Linked DNA regions of Homo sapiens: region 2 is linked to region 1. Evidence: promoter capture Hi-C in 16 types of primary human blood cells and fetal thymus (Javierre and others, 2016). All regions are on one chromosome and are shown on one strand. Each heading gives the region's core, a stretch centred on a gene start or on the middle of the fragment in contact. The rest is flanking DNA. Distances are from core to core; before and after follow the strand shown.

What was found. The method cuts DNA at HindIII sites, captures the fragments that hold promoters and counts their contacts. A CHiCAGO score of 5 or more calls a contact.
Region 2: a fragment that was not itself captured here is called in contact with the fragment with the promoter of RBMX in region 1 in 5 of 17 cell types (total CD8 T cells, activated CD4 T cells, neutrophils and 2 more); the score reaches 7.9 in total CD8 T cells.

Annotation. Positions count from the first base shown.
Region 1 is chrX:136,875,509-136,882,128 of GRCh38, reverse strand. It overlaps RBMX (RNA binding motif protein X-linked), which reads left to right and starts at 1,404. Exons shown (of 9, transcript NM_002139.4): 1 at 1,404-1,532; 2 at 2,676-2,810; 3 at 3,006-3,112; 4 at 4,043-4,214; 5 at 5,474-5,626; 6 at 6,544-6,620. The coding sequence starts at 2,702. It overlaps SNORD61 (small nucleolar RNA, C/D box 61), which reads left to right and starts at 2,858; the gene lies at 2,858-2,930. RefSeq lists enhancers at 1,281-1,879, 1,549-2,008, 2,019-2,078, 1,880-2,479. The HindIII fragment of the contact is 13,799 bases long and covers 1-6,620 here.
Region 2 is chrX:136,763,731-136,770,041 of GRCh38, reverse strand. The region is part of intron 2 of ARHGEF6 (Rac/Cdc42 guanine nucleotide exchange factor 6); the gene reads left to right. Among named protein-coding and RNA genes, the nearest start is that of ARHGEF6, 14 kb to the left of the region's middle. RefSeq lists an enhancer at 1,506-1,615 and silencers at 2,348-2,627, 2,638-2,687, 2,545-2,713, 2,718-2,767, 2,828-2,957. The HindIII fragment of the contact is 795 bases long and covers 1,577-2,371 here.

The DNA of each region.
Region 1 (6,620 bases), core at 155-2,654:
ATACTAAAAAAAGTATTCGTTATCTGAAATTTAAACTTAACTGGGCGTCCCTTTTTTTTTTTTTAGACGAAGTCTCGCTCTGTTGCCAGGCTGGAGTGCAGTGGTATGATCTTGGCTCACTGCAACCGCCGCCTCCTGGGTTCAAGCAATTCTCCTGCCTCAGCCTCCCGAGTAGCTGGGACTACAGGCACACGCCGCCACGCCCGGCTAATTTTTTTATTTTTTATTTTTATTTTAGTAGAGACGGGGTTTCACCATGTTGCCCAGGCTGGTCTCAAACCCCTGAGCTCAGGCAATCTGCCCGCCTCGGCCTCCCAAAGTGCTAGGATTACAGGCATGAGCCACCGCGCCCCGGCCGCGTCCCATATTTTTATTTAAAATTTTTTAACAGCTTCGCAGAATAAATTAGCGTCCCGCATTTTCTTTTTTATTTTGAGACGGAGTCTCGCTCTGTCGCCTGCCCAGGCTGGAGTGCGGTGGCGCAGTCTTGGCTCACTGCAACCTCCGCCTCCCGGATTCTCCTGCCTCAGCCTCCCGAGTAGCTGGGACTACAGGCGCGTGCCACCACGCCTGGGTAATTTTTTGTATTTTTAAAAAGAGACGGGGTTTCACCGTGTTAGCCAGGATGGTCTCCATCTCCTGACTTCGTGATCCACCGACCTTGGCCTCCCAAAGTGCTGGGATTACAGGCGTGAGCCACTGCACCCGGCCTGGTATTTTCATTTATTAAATCCGGCATCCTTACCCACAGGCCTGACTCTTGTCTTTTCCCTGGAGTTGTATTTTCCTGGCCTAGCCCAGAGCCCACCATTTACAAGGTGCTCAGTAATTGTTCTATATGAATGTACTATCTGCATGCTGTTTTGTACGTTTTTTACTCATCTGAAATTTACATGTATTTATCAGAAATTCCCACACTCACTAAAAACACTTGTTAAAGACAATTTTTGAAAATATATTATATTGCCAAAACTTCTTTGTTTTCCGTTTCTGCAAAATTGGTATAGTAGGAGTATCTACCCTCATCACATTTTGACAATTAGAAGAGTTAATGGAAAAGTAAAAGTAAAGTTTTGCACCGTGCCCGGCCCACTAGGACGCTCAATAAACTTCAGTTCTTTATTAAAGGAAGCCTGTGCACCATTTTAGCGTAAAGCAAAAAAAGCGCGTTTGTAAAGAACGGGTGGGGGTAGAGAAAACGGTTAGAAAGGTCTGTCGACCCAACACCGAGGGCCCGGGAAAAAGGGAGGAGAGAAGGGTGAATGACAGAGGAGCCAGCCAATGGGGAGACTGGGAACTACTTCCCCCCTCCCTTTGCGTTTCAAATTCTAAGCTCCGTTTCCATCCGGGTCCTTCAGCCTCGTTCCCGGGCAGTATAAAGTTTGCTGTCTCCTTTGTTCGCCCTCGTTGCGCAGTAGTGCTAGCGGCTTCGCGGTTCGGTCCTCGCACCCGGCAGCCGCCACTGGTGCTGAGCTGCTAGGAAGCCCCTATCGCCGAGCTCGTTGGAGCTTGAACCCATTGTCACCCCTCCGGTACGTGTCTCCTTTCCTCAGTCCGTTTTTCGTGACACTCTCCCCGTGTTAGGACTGGGGATTATATCTCCCTGGAGATGGGGGTGGCGGGCGCCATTTTAAGAACCCAAAGGTTCCGACCTATTTAAATAAAGCTGAGGGGGTCGAGGGAAAACAAATGAGGGGGCCCGTTTGGTTGTATGCTTCTCGAGAAAGTTTGGCTGCCATCTGCGGGAGTTGGTAGCGGAGGTCGGGGCTTTGTAGGCTGGAGCGGGGCGAGGAGCGACCGCACCACGGCGATACCTGCATTGGTATGGCGCTGGCGCTAATGATGGGCATGTGGACTTCCATGCGGGCTGCGGGCTTCGTATTCATTGGCGGCCCCGGAGAAGAAGCCCTCTGAATGTTCCCAGCCAATGTTGGTGGTAAAAGTTAGTCCCCTGACCAGTGTCGGTGGTTCTGGGTTGAATCCAAGTGTCGCCATTTTGTCTTTTACACGCGGTTTTTAATGACGAGTTTTAATTAGGTTCCGCTGCAGTCACGGAGTGTCGAGTGTTAGTGTGTGCGTCCGCGTTCCGTTACTTAATAGCAAACGATGTTGACGATTTGTTTTTATCTTTTTGGCCGGATAGTAGAATTTTCGGTAGGGCGGGGGCCGGTGAAGAAGAGGGGCGGCATAACTTGGCTTAAACTTCACATTTCTCCTTGGATTTAGTAGGGAATCCTAATGAGGAAAAGAGGAGTCGTTGGAAGAGGGCTTGGTGTTAAGGTCCTGTGTCTAGCCTGTGACCTTGGGAGTCTTTTAAAACCATCGTTAGGAAGGGTGTGATGAGTAATTGAATCTTTCAAAGGCAAGAGGACTGGAACTAAAAGTTGCTTTTTCAAATGTTAAGCAGCTGTTGCTTAAGAACAGCTAAGGGTGATCAAGGGTAGTGGTAAAAGTTAAGTTGGCCCTTTTAACCAGTTTTATGTAAATTGCAGTGTTACTAAACTACTTAGTTCAAATTGCTTCCTACTGTGGCTGAGGCTTAGCTCGTTATCGTTTTCTTTAGTTATTAAGGAACAATGGTTTTAGTGGAAAATATGAGAAATGTGCGAAAGTAAAAGTGTCCAATAAACTTGAGGAACTTTTTGCAGTGAGGTAATACTATTCCTTTTCAACAGACTCACCGGCCCAAAAAAAAAAAAACATGGTTGAAGCAGATCGCCCAGGAAAGCTCTTCATTGGTGGGCTTAATACGGAAACAAATGAGAAAGCTCTTGAAGCAGTATTTGGCAAATATGGACGAATAGTGGAAGGTGAGTTGTCTGGCAGTACAGGCTGGGCTATTATAATTAAAATATAAGCTATGATGAATTTGATTGCATTGATCGTCTGACATGATAATGTATTTTTGTCCTCTAAGAAGTTCTGAGCTTTCTGTTTACACATTTACTTTGGTTATTTCATTTGACCTAGGGTAACACTTTATTTTTCTGAAAACTACTTTTTAGTACTCTTGATGAAAGACCGTGAAACCAACAAATCAAGAGGATTTGCTTTTGTCACCTTTGAAAGCCCAGCAGACGCTAAGGATGCAGCCAGAGACATGAATGGAAAGGTGAGATTGTCTACACGATGGATGATAACCTGTTACTAGTGCATAAAATAACATGTAGTTGTCCAAGTCTGGTCTAGGACAGCTTTTGAGTTTTCGTTGTTTTTCAGTATATACCTGTCTGGGATCCACTCATCCTGTTTGTGATCCTGTTCCAAAGAGTATTCTGTAATTGCAGAACCAAATCTAGTAGTGAGTTATATCTTATGCTCGTAACATTCTCTCAGTTCAGAATAATTATGGCATTACATGGTACTTTTTTTTTTTTTTTTTTGATAGTCTCCCTCCGTTGCCTAGCCTGGAGTGCAATGGTGCAGTGCCCACTGCAGCCTGTCTCCCGAGTTCTAAGCGATTTTTCTGCCTCAGCCCCCCCCCCCCCCCCCAGTAGCTGGGATTACAGGCATGCGCGACCACGCCCGGCTAACTTTGTATTTTTAGTAGAGACAGGGTTTCACCATGTTGGCCAGGCTGGTCTCAAACTCCTGACTTCAGGTGATCCAGCTGCCTCCGCCTCCCAAAGTACTGGGATTACAGGTGTGAGACACTGCGAGCCACTGCGCCCAGCCAACATGATACATTTTATCTTGAGATCCATAAGCCATATTTTGATAACTTGGCTTTTGGTTTTGGCTACTAGTTTTGATAACAAGCTGATACCTACTTGGCCTTGTTTTAAATTTTACCATACAATAATGCAGTGGGTTCACCTTATGTTTCAATCCAGATCATCAGTATCGGTTTTAAGTATTAAGAATTTTAAGCGGAAAAGCCCCATTTATGTAAACTGACTATATTTGCAGTGTTTTTTCTTAGACTAATGAGCAACACTTACCCATAACTGCATTTTGAAGGACCAGTTAGTGTCTTAGTGCATAGTAGATGTGCAAATTATTTTTAAATCTTGATTTAATTTAATCGTATCTTTTTTTTTAGTCATTAGATGGAAAAGCCATCAAGGTGGAACAAGCCACCAAACCATCATTTGAAAGTGGTAGACGTGGACCGCCTCCACCTCCAAGAAGTAGAGGCCCTCCAAGAGGTCTTAGAGGTGGAAGAGGAGGAAGTGGAGGAACCAGGGGACCTCCCTCACGGGGAGGACACATGGGTAATAACTTGCGTGGACCTCGGGTTTGGTGTATAAGTTAGGGACTGCAAGCTCACACCAAGTGGATGCTTTGGTTAAGTCCTTGAGGAAAGGTGCCAACTTTTGAAATTGACAACACTTGTTCATCTACCAAAGTGATTGCCAATTGAAAGCATGGGAAGCATGTTTTAGATTATGGTGTTAAACCGTGGACAGTGTTACTTCTTGTCCAAGTAGTTCACTCTGTAGGAAAGGCATTTAAAAATTGATAGGCCAGGGTGTTGGACATGAAAATGAAATCATTTTTATTTTTTAAAGTTAGCTGGGCGTGGTGGCAGGTGCCTGTAATCCCAGCTACTACGGAGGCTGAGGCAGAAGAATCACTTGAACTTGGGAGGCAGAGGTTGCAGTGAGTTGAGATCGTGCCACTGTACTCCAGCCTGGGGGAACAGCGAGACTCCCTCTCAAAAAAAAAAAAAAAAAGTTTTTTAAGACTACCTTCAGTTCTTATTTCCCCAGTTTCTATGACTGCAGTGCATGCTCCATCAAGTACAAGTGAAACTAGACTACCCAAATCAATAATGGTTTTTTTTTGGGGGGGGGGGGGTAGAGTTTAGCACTTGTTGCCCAGGCTGAAGTGCAGTGGCACGATCTTGGCTCACCACAACCTCTGCCTTCCAGGTTCAGGCGATTGTCCTGCCTCAGCCTCCCAAGTAGCTGGGATTACGGGCATGCACCACCACACCTGGATTTTTGTATTTTTAGTAGAGACAGGATTTTACCGTGTTAGACTGGTCTTGAACTCCTGACCTCAGGTGATCCGCCCGCCTTGGCCTCCCAAAGTGCTGGGATTACAGGCGTGAGCCATTGTGCCCGGCCCAATAATGGTCATATTCTTGATGAAGCAAAGAAAACTTTTATAGTGGCCGAGCCTGGTGGCTCACACCTGCAATCCCAGCACTTTGGGAGGCTGAGGCAGGCGGATCACAAGGTCAGGAGTTCGAGACCAGCCTGGCCAGCATGGTGAAATCCTGTCTCTACTTAAAAAAAACCACCAAAAATTAGCTGGGTGTGGTGGCGCACACCTGTAATCCCAGCTACTCGGGAGGCTGAGGCAGGAGAATTGCTTGAACCCAGGAGGCAGAGGTTGCAGTGAGCCGAGATGAAGCCACTGCACTCCAGCCTGGGCGACAGTGAGACTCTCAAAAAAAAAAAAAAACTTTTATATCTTTCTTGATTCTTGTGAGTAGTAATATTTTTCTTTTCTATTTTTGATGCAGATGACGGTGGATATTCCATGAATTTTAACATGAGTTCTTCCAGGGGACCACTCCCAGTAAAAAGAGGACCACCACCAAGAAGTGGGGGTCCTCCTCCTAAGAGATCTGCACCTTCAGGACCAGTTCGCAGTAGCAGTGGAATGGGAGGAAGAGGTAAATGTTCCATGTATGATGATTTATGCTACTACCGTAACACAAAGAATTGAGAGGTGAATGATGCTTAAAATTTTAATTGGCCAGGCGTGGTGGCTCACGCCCGTAATCCTAGCACTTTGGGAGGCCGCGGCAGACGGATCACGGTGTCAAGAGATCAAGACCATCCTGGCCAATGTGGTGAAACCCCGTCTCTACTAAAAAATACAAAAATTAGCTGAGTGTAGGGCGGGTTCCTGTAATCCCCGCTACTTGGGAGGCCGAGGCAGGAGAATTGTTTGAACCTGGGAGGCAGAGGTTGCAGGGAACCGAGATCATGCCACTGTCCTCCAGCGTGGCAACAGAGTGAGATTCTGTCTCCAAAAAAAAAAAAAAAACAAAAAAAAAAAACTTTATTCATGGAGTCTGGGTGCGGTGGCTCACGCCTGTAATCTTGACACTTTGGGAGGCTGAGGTGGGCAGATCATGAGGCCCGGAGTTCGAGGCCAGTCTGGCCAACGTGGTGAAACCCTGTCTCTACTAAAGATACAAAAGTTAGCTGGGCGTGGTGGTGGGCACCTGTAATCCCAGCTACTCGGGAGGCTGAGGCAGGAGAATCACTTGAACCCAGAAGGCAGAGGTTGCAGTGAGCCAAGATTGCGCGACTGCACTCCAGCCTGGGTGACAGAGCGAGACTCCCATCTCAAAAAAAAAAAACAAAACTTTTAGTCATGTGTTCTAGGTGATTAGATAAATGGAATTAGCACTGAAAAAAATTTAAAATATGAATGGGAAATTGTAGAAAATAAAATTAGGTGATCTAGCCTCCGTAATGTCATCTTTGAAGTCAGTCTCATTATTTTTCATAGCCTGAATGTAAGTTCACGTTTTAACTTTTTTCTCTGGCTATGTTTAAAAAAATGATATTTTTCCTTAAGCTCCTGTATCACGTGGAAGAGATAGTTATGGAGGTCCACCTCGAAGGGAACCGCTGCCCTCTCGTAGAGATGTTTAT
Region 2 (6,311 bases), core at 725-3,224, 110 kb after region 1:
CCTGTCCCTGGCAACACTGGATATTATTTGTCTTTAATGTTTGCTAAACTGATGGATGAAAATGGCATTTCATTTATTGCTGTAATTTGTATTTCATGATTACTAATGAGTTTGGACATCCTCTTATCCCTTTATAGTCTATTTGTATTTCCTTTTTGTGAACCAAATATATCTTTCTTACTTTCTTACAGAATGGAGAAGGCAGGGAAAATACTCAGGTCCCAAGTGAAGTTTCCAGAATATATGGAAGAATCCTCCTGTCTAGGTAGAGGGTCACTGATGTCTCTCAACAACACAAGTTCTAGCAATGGCAGTTTTATTTTTGTGTTGCCCCTGAAGTTGCTGAGAGTTGGGGACACCTACAATTCTTCCGATCAGTCAAGAATGGCCTGGGTAGTACCTCTTTGATTGCATTGTCCTGGCTACAACTACATGACCGACTGGTCTCTGAAAGCTCTAAACCTATGGTTTTCCTGTTAGCCAACCCTTTCCTCTGCCTTATCCCCAGAAGGTAATCTGCCTTTGTCCTCTTCCACCATTACTACCAACCCATTGCCAGGGACACCCTACCATCTCCTATTCTGCTCCTGAGCCAAGTTTATTATTTATTTATTTATTTTTATTTATTTTTGAGATGGAGTCTCGCTCTGTCACCCAGCTGGAGTGCAGTGGCGTGATCTAGGCTCACTGCAGCCTCCACCTCCCGGGTTAAAGTGATTCTTGTGCCTCAGCCTCCCAAGTAGCTGGGATTACAGGTGCCCGCCATCATGCCCCGCAAATTTTTGTATTTTTAGTAGAGACAGGGTTTCGCCCTGTTGGCCAGGCTGGTCTCGAATTCCTGACCTCAAGTGATCCACCTGCATCTGCCTCCCAAAGTGCTGGGATTATAGGCAGGAGCCACCGCACCCAGCCCCAAGTTTATTTTTTTTTAAAGATATTTTATTCTGGAAGGATTTCACTGAATGTATATGAGATTCAATTAGTACTTATTTCACTTTCTTTCTTCCTCCTTCCCTCTCTTCCTCCTCTCTTTCCCCCTCTCTTACTCTCTCTCCCTCTCTTTCTCCCCCTCTCTCTTTCTTTCTTTCCAGTACCAGCTGGTAGCAGTATGTTTTTTTCTCTGCCCCCACCCCCTCATTCCCTCCTGTCTCCCTGAGTCACTCCATCTGCCTTGTCACCGGAACAGCAGGGGTGCCCTCCCCAAAGTGAGGCTTGTGGGATGGACGATTTGCCATTTCCCAGGGGCTGCTCTGCAGGGAAGCAGTTCTGAAAGTAAGGCAGCTCTACTAATGATCATGAGTCAAGACTAAATATCTAGCAGCGCGGTGCCTCCTGGGAGGAGTTAGGCACAAGGCCCGGCCTAACCACTACAATTACCAGTAGTTGTAACGGGTATCAGCAGATCTTGCTTCAAGCCCTGACCCTGCCACTTGTGTGAAGTCAGGATCTCCTTTCCCAGGCCTCAGTTGAGTCATCTGTAAAATGAGGAGACTAGAGTAGGGGTTGGGTAATGTCTAATGGTTGTAATGTCTGTTTTTAACTTGCCCATTTCCATCAGTTTCCGCTAGGCAAAGCTTTGCATATTTAGCTGCTCAGTTGGAACTAGTAGGAAGACCAAAGAGGATTTTGGCAAGTTCTTTTCTTCTGTTGTGCAAATCTGACATGCTTAATGGAATTTCCAAGAGTTACATTAAATGTCACCCATGAGTCTGGCTATCCTAATGTTTTACAGATTGCATCGTATTTCTGTAAAAATTAGACATTGAATAAGATTTTAAATATTTCCCATCTATCATGAACATTTTCGTTCTCTCTCAAAGAGACTATTTGATTTGGGGCCTGTTATCAGAGAGGCCGGGAAGGGCATCTAGGATAGTTGGAGGAAGGGTGGTATGTGAAGGGCCTCTGGAGAGCCAACGCTTCTCGGGTGTCTCAGCGGCTCACCATAGAGTTTGGGGGTTCTGAGTTGCATCTGGGGGTGAGGGAGGAAGCAGGCCACCAGAAAGGGCTAGTCCATGAGTCCGGGAATCCCGCCCGAAGCTCTGGCAGTGACCCGCAACATGCCAGGCACCGGCAGCCCTCGGGTAGGGGCTGAAGCGGGCGGCAGCAGCATGCGCAGTGTGGCCGCCGCGGGTACACCGCGGCTTTTGCTGCTGCCACAGCTACCAGGGCTGCTGCTGCTGCTGCTGCTGCTGCTGCTGCTCTGCCTGCGCCGCTGTCACTTCCAGTTCCTACTTCTGCGATCCAGGTCCGGGTCACTGCTTACCCGCTGCTGGCCCAGTGCCTCCAGGCCGCTTTCCCTCCGCTGCTCGGCTCCGGCTGCGGGCAGGAGGGGACCGGCGCGGGTAGCTGAGCGTGGTCTGGAGAAGCTTCGCGGGCTGGCTCCCCCGGCAGTCGCTCCCCTCCACTCGCCACCCCGCGCACCCTCGCCCGGCTCGCAGCCAGCGCACCCAGCGGGGCGCGCCTCCGGCACCCCCAGTTCGGCCCCGCGATCCTCCGCCCGCCGAGCGGCACGGCTATGGCAACAAGAACTTGAGGACAAGACTCTGACTTCCCTTTAGATTAAAAAACAATCCCTGGGCTGGAGAGGTTGCGGGCGCGGCACAGAGTTTGGAGACGGGCGCCCCCTCCTCGCCCGCGTCCAGGCGCAAAGTTGCAGCCGCCCCTCCCCGCTGGGGCGAGCCTAGCCCAGCTCTCCAGTTTCGCCCTGGTGGCGGCCGCGCTCAGGGCAGGGTCCCAGCTCCGGCTGGGTTGATCTGTTCCCGCAGCCTTGGCACAGGCTTGCCCGCCCGCTCGCCGGCCCCGTGACTCGGGAGGGCGAACGGCTTCCAGGAGGCGGCGGCGGCGCGGCTGGAGTGAGGGAGCAGCTGGAGGACAGGCGGGCAGCGGCCGAGCCAGGTGACCTGCCTGGGGGCAAAAGGGTCAGGGGAAGGGGAGCGCGCGAGGGCCCGGGGGTGGGTGCCGAAGGACCCCCTTTGGAGAGGAACCGCCCTTCTTCCCCACTGCCGTGGCTCGCAGCCCCAGCTGCGGGGTCCGTTCTCTGCCAGGGCCTCACAGTTCGCTGAGATCCAGGGTGCCGGGAAGGGGGAGATGAGGGCCAAGGACGCAGAGCGAGGACGCGCCAAACTTAGGGGCGAGTTGTCCAGCTCTGGCCGCAAGGTTTGCATCCGACTGGATTCTTTCCTTCCCCCAGAACCAGAGCAGGAGTCAACAGTACCATTTTTAATACTACTGTGATGCCCTCCCAACCCCGAGCATCCATACATTTGGAGATGTTTTCTGCATTAAGTACAGAGATCTGTCGCAGGAATGGTTTGTAGATGGAAAAGACCTGTATTCTACAAGGTGTTCCAAAGTGCCTGTAGTTAATTACAAGTTTTCATTTTCCAGTCATTTAGGAACCCAACAGGTATTTGAGCTATTTCGTTTCTTAGCTCTGCAGCGGAGAGCCCTCAAGTTTATCTCTGCCTCTTCAAAGGTCTTATATTTTCATTTTTGATTTGTTATTGTTTTTGGATAGAGGGGTAACTCACATGATATTTTTCCCTTTTCTTAATGTGTAGTGGGAGTAAAAATACAGTAAATGAATATATTTTCCTCTGCAATTATGTATATTTTGGTCAATAAAAACTTTGCATAACCCCCCCCCAAAAAAAACCTCACAAAATAGGATAAATTTCAGTTTATGCTCTGTAAAGTATTAATAATTTTAAAGGCAAGATTCAAAGGTTCAAACTGTTTTTTTTTAAACTTATATTTGCCTGGAAAACTCATAGTGTCCTTGGACTTCCTATCTTAATTTTGACATTGACCATGGTAAGAGGATCTCTGATGACATCATTTGCTCCAGCCACAGTCTGGAATTCTGTGACTGAGAGCACCTCTCTCCAAAATGTAAGGCCTGGGCCTGCCCTTGTGCTTCAGCTGAGGCATTTCCAAGGATTTCTCTTCAGCAAAGTATTATGCTACATGCCAGGCAATGCTGCAGTCCCTTCTTACATAATAAGCCAGCTTCAGGCTGGTGTACTCTTTGGGTGTGCTTAGAGCAGTTAAAACAAGGGAGTGTTCTGTCTTAGTCTGGGTGCTGTGCAGATGATTGGAGTTTTGAACAAAGTAAATTTCCAGCTACTATTCTCATATTGCATTTCTTTGGTGCTTAATTTTTTGAATGCCTTCTAGTTATCTGAAACTCCCCGTGCCCTTGTAAAGGATGTAGGAGAGATGGCATTACTTTCACTTGACAAAGAAACAGAAAAGTTTAGTTAATCGAAGTCATACAGCTTATCACTGGTAGGATCAAAACTCTAACCTGGACCTCCTGCTTTCAGCCTAGGTTTTTTCTTTGTTCGTTTATTTTTACTAAAATGTGACATTTTATACAAAAGTGTTTTATGTGGCACATTTTATGGATGGTATGTCTTCCAAGCTACTAATTTTTTCTATTCTTTTTGCCTACTCACATCTCAGCCTTGTCTTTGCTTGTGCAGGGCTGGCGCTGTTCTTAGGGGTAAGGACAGGAGGAGAGTTTTTCAAAGGATGGTCTGTGGTTTCTATTTACCTACAGTCTGCCTCTTCTCTACTCACATTCAGGGAGAGCAGGTGCTGAATAGAGTGAGTAGCCAGGGCCCAGAAATTTCTGATATTCATTTGACATCATTAGTCCAAGTATAACATTACTTCAATCTTTACAAAGAAACTCATTCAGGAGAGGAAATTGAAGAGTATGAGTTTTGTTCTTTTATAGCAATCTGTTTATCACTGTGCTTAGGACCGTAGATGCAAAGGAGGAAAAGGAGTTGAGTATCTACCATTTCTCAGGCACCTCCTATGTTCCAGGCACTATGCTAGGTGCTTTAAATCTATTATCATATTTAGCCCTTGCAACACTCCTGGGAGGTAGGTGGCATTGTACTCATTATACCCTGGTGGAAACCAAGGTTTGGAGATGATCCAGACTGATGCCTCACACTGCCAGTGCAAAGAAGAACCGGAATGTAATCACTGATGTACCTGACTCCAGAACTCATTCCCTTTGCCTTGTGCTAGGCTGCTGTTGCCCCCAAAGCTATTGATAAATACAGGAACACCTAGCTCCTTTGTTTTCAGACATGGCTGTACATTGGAGTCACTTGGGATACTTTTTAAAAATACAAATTTTGGGGTCTTATAACCCAGAGATTTTGAGTTAATTGGTCCGCAATGAGGCCCAGCCACTGGTATTCCTTTTTTAAAAAAATGCTTAAATCAACTTTATATTTACATTCGGGAAATTGCACAAATCCTAAGTATATAGTTTGGTGAATCTTCGCAAACTGACACACTCATACAGTCTGCACCCTTATTAAGAAACAGAACAGGATTGGTGCCCAGAAGCTATCCTCGTGCCCCTTCCCAGTCACTATGCCTCACCAAGGGGCACTACTATCATGACTATCCACCACTATCGTAGTAGATACCCTGCCTTCCCACCTGTTTTGGTACTCTATATGAGCGGACTCATACAGTATGTACTTGTTTGTATGAGGTTTCTTTCACTCAGCATAATATTTGTACAAGTCACCCGTGTTGTTGCAGGTAGTAGTGGTTCACTTTTTTTCTTGCTGTATAATATTTCATTGTATGGATATACCATGTTTTGTTTTTCTATTCACTTGTTGATGGACATCTACATTGTTTCCAGTTTTTGTTTGCTGTGAACAATGCTGCTATGAAGATCCTCGTGAGTGTCTCCTGGAGAATATATACACCCATTTCTGTTGGGTTTATGCATTACAGTGTCACTGCTACGTCATAGGGTCTGCATGTGTTCAGCTTTAGTAGGTACTGTCCAGCCATTTCCCAAATCAGACAAGCCTTGTGATTTTTTTTTTTTTGAAAGCTCTGCAAGTGATTCTAATGTGTATCCAGAGTTGAGAACCATTTCCCTGGTTTATCCAGCGTTCAGCAACCTAGTGACCTCAACTGTCTGCCACTAAGCTGAGAACCATACAGAAGGAGATACCAACTTTCTTCTCAGCCTGGAATCTTCTGGACAGTCTTCTCAGCAAAATTGGGCAGCTTACACTTATTTTCCCATAATCCCTTGTGCCAAGCTACCTTTATACTGCTCGTCCACCCTTGCTTTGTTTTTTTTTGTGAACACATCTGCTAGTCTCAGAACTTTTCAAAGGTAGGAACTGGAGCCTGATCTTCTTTATTTTATTTCTTTATTTATTTTGAGACAGAGTCTCGCTCTGTTGCCCAGGCTGGAGTGCAGTGGTGCGATCTCTGCTCACTGCAACCTCTGCCTCCTAGGTACAAGCGATTCTCTT